Regions from separate parts of the Homo sapiens genome. Here region 2 is linked to region 1. The links are contacts of gene promoters, found by promoter capture Hi-C in human tissues and cell types (Jung and others, 2019). All regions are on one chromosome and are shown on one strand. Each heading gives the region's core, a stretch centred on a gene start or on the middle of the fragment in contact. The rest is flanking DNA. Distances are from core to core; before and after follow the strand shown.

Region 1 (2,744 bases), core at 184-2,683:
GCTTTGTGATCTTGGACAAGTTACTTCACCTTTCCGAGCCGAGCCTCAGTTTCCCCATCTGTGGGAAAGAAATAACATTAGCACTCACTCCTCAGCGTTGTTGTGAGGATGAAATGAGATTATTTTGGTAAAGGCATTTAGCCCTGTGCCTTGCATGGAGTTGGCACTCAGCAACCATAGGTTATTTTCACGAGCCATAAATAGCAGGTCAGCAGCTCACAGAATCCAGCACAGTTCAGTTTTCCCCTCACCCCTGCCTCCCTCACAGCCTGTGTGGTCACACCTCCCAGGACTGCCACCTTGCTTTTGTCTGTGCCACACTGCGCAGTTCCAAAGCCCCCTTTCTGGATCCTCTCCTCCTAACTCCTGGGCCCCCTGGCCCTCCTGTCACTGCGGCCATCTCTGCTGGGCTCTGCAGGTGCTCACTCCTGTGGCCCAGCACAGCTCGATGTCTCCTGGGCTGGCTGCCTTCACATTCCCTCTTTCTGTTTCTCCCTCATCACGCTCAGCCCTCTCCCCTCACACTCTCTTCCCCACTTCACACCCCTCGCTCCCTTGCTGTTTCTACTCTCACCTCGAGATTCTTTCTGTGGGAAGGGTGGGGAGGGAGGAGGGGGCTGGGAATAAACAGAGGGGAGAGGCATTTCCAGATATGCTGCAGATAAAGAAAAAGAGAGAGCAACAGGAAGAGTGACAGAGTGAGGCGGTGACTGAAATCCACACAGACTGAAACGACAGAGAGACTCGCCAAGAGGACGATTGAGGCCAGAGAGATATCGAGAGACAGAGAAAAAGGGCCCAATGTACGCCGACCCAGAGAGTGGGCGGGGGGGGGGCACTCGGAGGCCTGGAGCCCGGGAAGCGTCTGTTACCGAGAGTTTAAGATTCAAGAGATAGCAGGAAATATGCGAGACAGAGAAACTCAGAGAGATAGCAAGCCAGAGAGAAGCTGAGGAGGAAAGATGGAAACAGAGAGTGAAATAGAGACCCAGACGGGGAGGGGTTGCGCGGCTGGAACTCACAGACACACACGTCCTGAGAGACAGAGGCATGGGGAGGGGAGAATGATTATGCCTGTCCCCAGCCCAGCTCAGTGTCCCCAAGGAGATACTTGGCTGTGAGTGACTTCCCTGGTGCAATACCCCCAAAAGTAGGGGCATCCTGTGAAAAGAGACTCAGTGTCCAGGGCTGGGGTTCCAAAGGACGAATCCCGGGCCCCAGGCCTAGGACCCCGGACATGAACACTTGGCAGAGCTGTGGGGAGTGGCCCCAGGATTCCAGCTCTCCATCAAGCCCAAGGCTCAGCCCCTCTCTAGGGATCCCCTACTCACGTTGGCACCTCTGGCCCAGCCCCTGCTTGGCCTCCTTGGTCTCTCTTCTCGTCAAGAGAAGTTCCTGAAACCAGCTGCAGTCCAGCTTCTCTCCCCGAGCTCTGTCGTTAATGGCTCAGCCTCTGACAGGCCCGGGGGCTGGGGATTGCAACACCTTCCGAGCCTCCCTCCTGCCCTCCCTTGCGCCTTCGAGGGCACAGGCAGCCCCTTCCTCCCAGGAAGGAGCCTGTGAGGGAAGCTGGTGAGGCCCGGGCAGCCTTCCTGCCTTGGGGGTCTTAAAGGGCTGGGGAATGTGGCAACGATGTCCCCCTCCCCTGCCTCCGGATTTCCTGAGCTCAAAGCTTTGAGGCTGGGCAGGGCCCAGGCTCCCACCTGGCTGGGTGCCATCCTTATGCCCCCTGCCCTGGGGGAGCATCACTTGGAGGCAGGCCCTGGCTGGAAGGCTCACCCGGCCCTAAGCCTCTTTTCAGCTCTAGCCTTGGGGACCACATCTTCACAGTACTCAGAAGGGTGTGTTCCAGGTTCCAGGGAATTGTGTAACCCAATACTCACTGCTCCCCTCTTCATTACGTATTCTGTGCATTGCCCATAGACCAGGCAGATGGAGAAACAGGAATTCTGGGGGCAAGACAGGAGGACGTCTTGGTGAGGCACGGGGTCTTTATATGTTCACTAAAAATTAGGAATGTTTACCCACAATGGTTCTGCAACACTGAATATTTTGTAATTGAGTGAAATAGACTACATTTTATGTCTTTTATTGTCTGTATTCATGATTCTTCTAAAACTACAAATAATTTTCTTTGCATTTTCTGAGAAAGGTTCAAACTGCTCATAGTTTATTGGATTCATAACCCAAAAAAGGTTAGGTGCCAACAGACCAGCAGACTGTCCTTAACATATAATCCTTTTGAGGCATCTGGGTCTGGTGTGATGCTGCAGACCAGGGCTGTAGTTCTAGTTCCAAGTCAAATGACCTGACTGCCTGCTGCAACCCTCCCAAGATATCCCACAGGCTCTGCTCGCTCAGTGAGTCCCATGGACTCTCTTCTTTCCAAATATAACCAGAATCCTGGGTATTCACTGTAAAGTTCAACTTGGCTCTACGTTTGAATATTTTTATGATAATATTTGGAAAATATAAATATAACTGAAACCAATACTAGCCAGCTCCAAGCTACCCTCATCTATTGCCTAGATAATCGCAATAGCCCCCTGCCTGCTCTCCTGCTTCTATTTCATCCTTGTTCCCGCACCTGTCTGTAATTCCTTCAGCAGCCAGTGCGATATCAATCAAACAGAAGTCTGATCAGCCCATCCTCGTCCCAACCTTTCCAATGGCTCCTGTCTCATTCAGAGTCAAAGTCAAAGCCCTTTGGATGGTCTACAAGGCCCTACAAAACCTGGTATCCC
Region 2 (2,776 bases), core at 272-2,771, 1.0 Mb after region 1:
ACTATTCTTTCTTTTTTTTTTTTTTTTTGACAGAGTCTCGCTCTGTCGCCCAGGCTGCTGGAGTGCAGTGGCGCAACAGAGCAGTACTATTCCATCTCTAGCAATCTCAAACTGTTAAGAGTCAAAAATATTTTTTTTTTTTGAGATGGAGTCTCGCTCTGTCGCCCAGGCTGGAGTGCAGTGGCACTATCTCAGCTCACTGTAAGCTCCGCCTCCCAGGTTCATGCCATTCTCCTGCCTCAGCCTCCCGAGTAGCTGGGACTACCGGCACCCGCCACCACGCTCAGCTAATTTTTTGCATTTTTAGTAGAGATGGGGTTTCACTGTGTTCGCCAGGATGGTCTCGATCTCCTGACCTCGTGATCCGCCCGCTTCGGCCTCCCAAAGTGCTGGGATTACAGGTGTGAGCCACCGCACCCAGCCCAAGAGTCAAAAATATTTTAAGGTCTGCTGTGTGCTTTCCCCAAAAGGAAGGAAACTGTAGGCATCCCACTCCTCCCTCCCAGCAAAGGAGACCAACAGACAAAAAATACAGAATGCTTCTAGGATTTTTTTTTTTAAGGAATAATCTAAATATAAGAAACTATTTCCTTAAAAATCCTGACACTGGAGTTCTGCTACCAAAGACACAGTCAAAGATCTAAATAGCCAGAGTCAAAAAAAAAAAAAAAAAAAAACCCACAAAAGTTTATTTGAGAACAAGAGTGAAAGCTTTTGCACATCTGACAAGGTAGACTTGTTTTACAGTAGATGCCATCCATATTCAGCCCTACCAATACTATCACAAATGAAACATACTATTTCTTACAAAGATATAGGCATAAGTCAAGGACTATGACTAACTAGAGTGAAAGGAAAGGTTAGACCCCAAATCTTATCCCTTAGACCAATCATAACATAGGATGTAAATTAAACCATTCAGTCTTCTAATGTAGTGGTTCTCAACCTGGCTTCTTATCAGAATCCCAGGAACTCTTTTAAAGAAATTCCCAATAACTAGGCTGTACCCCAGTCTCTAGGGATGGGATCCAGGCATGAGTATTTTAAAGCTTCTCAGGTGATTCCAATGTGCAGCCAGACCCTGTCGCAAGTTCACCACAGCACTAGAGGCAGGTAACGATTACTAGCAGATTCCTCAGCCCCAACAAGCCCTCCAAGAAAGGGAGACCTGGTGGGCAACACTGGCTCTCACTGATGCTATCCTTTCACTCCACTTAAGAACGACATAAGTTATCACTTTTGGTATAATTTTGAGACTTTCCATATGCCATGGTGATTTTTAGAGCAATATTTAATCAGGTGAATACCAGCAAAGAGAGAAAATACAGAAAAAGAAATTTCCATAAGGCATGATATGAATAAATAAGTGAAAAAACAATCTCGGGTTTAAAAGTAAAGCATGAGAATTTGAAGCCTGTGAAATTTTATTTATACAAAAGAATAAAAAGTTATTTAAAAAGAACTGATTTAAACTTATGTTTTTCCATTTTTCCTGTTCCTTGAACATGAATCTACTACCAACTCAGAAAGATTTAAGATAGGTAATTACTAAACACTCTTTACCTCCCCTTGCAAAAAACAGAGGCAAGTTTCCCATTTTACTTATGATAAACCAGATTATTTTCAGTTATGAATATTGGCAACTGCATGAAAGAGATGATCAGATATGTCAGCAGGAAAGTATGAGCTGTACAAAGGCATTACAAAAAAACCCCAAAGAAAATAAGATAAAAACAACAAGAGAAAAACAAGAAAACATAAAACAATATAAGAAAATGCCAGATATTTACAGCCTCCATCTGAAATGTGACTTGTGTTCTACTTTCAGCATAAAACAAAACCAGAGAACATTTCTTGAAGGGTATCACAGATGAAGCTGGTGCCAGCCAGTTTTGGGGGAGACATTCATTCTAAGAAGGGAGAAACGCACAGTTAGCAACTTGCTGGGATTACAACATTGTCTTCATCTTCCTGCAGTTCTGTTACTAAAAATGACATAAAGTAAGACCCAATGTCTTACAGAAATGACTTGTTTGTCACCACATTTAGAACAAACTACTCAAAGTCACAGGCACTGGGTCTGGGAGAGCAGAGGTGGATGGCCACGAACTCAGGTGAAGGATGTTTATCTTTGTGAGGTCAGAGAAGGGAAGCAGGGCTCTACAGCCTGGAAGCTTCTGCACTAATGTGTCTTCTAATAGTCCTAAAGAAAGAAAAACAAAAGTCCCAACTTACTCTCGGCAGAACAGTTGTTTGACCCTAAAGGAAAAAAAAAATCTCATAAACAACTCTACTAGGGGACTGCTCTATAGCTAAAGATTATATTTCAGGCCAGGCACAGTGGCTCACACCTGTAATCCCAGCACTTTGGGAAGCCGAGGCAGGGAGATCACGAGGTCAGGAGTTCGAGACCAGCCTGGCCAGCATAGTGAAACCCCGTCTCTACTAAAAATACAAAACATTGGCCAGACATGGTGGTGGGCACCTGTAATTCCAGCTACTCAGGAGGCTGAGGTGGGAGAATCGCTTGAACCTGGAAGGCGGAGGTTGCAGTGAGCCAAGATCGCGCCATTGCACTCCAGCCTGGGTGACAAGAGTGAAACTCTGTTTCAAAAAAAAAAAAAAAAAAAAAGATTGTATTTCAGGCCAGGCGTGGTGGCTCAGGCCTATAATCCCAGCACTTAGGGAGGCCCAGGCGGGCAGATCACTTGAGGTCAGGAGCTCGAGACCAGCCTGGGTAACAAATTAAGACCATGTCTCTACAAAAAACACAAAA

Evidence for each region. Contacts are between HindIII fragments. The study calls those that stand out against the background at their distance.
Region 2: a contact is called between a fragment that was not itself captured here and the fragment with the promoter of CSF3R in region 1, in 1 of the 25 tissues and cell types used here (dorsolateral prefrontal cortex).

What each region holds. Positions count from the first base shown.
Region 1 is chr1:36,481,480-36,484,223 of GRCh38, forward strand. CSF3R (colony stimulating factor 3 receptor) reads right to left here and starts at 1,434. Exons shown (of 17, transcript NM_000760.4): 1 at 1,332-1,434; 2 at 1-58. RefSeq lists an enhancer at 1-122. The HindIII fragment of the contact is 11,013 bases long and covers 1-2,744 here.
Region 2 is chr1:37,491,905-37,494,680 of GRCh38, forward strand. It overlaps MEAF6 (MYST/Esa1 associated factor 6), which reads right to left. Exons shown (of 7, transcript NM_001270875.3): 7 at 1-2,203. The coding sequence ends at 2,195. Among named protein-coding and RNA genes, the nearest start is that of MIR5581, 7.7 kb to the right of the region's middle. The HindIII fragment of the contact is 5,415 bases long and covers 1-2,776 here.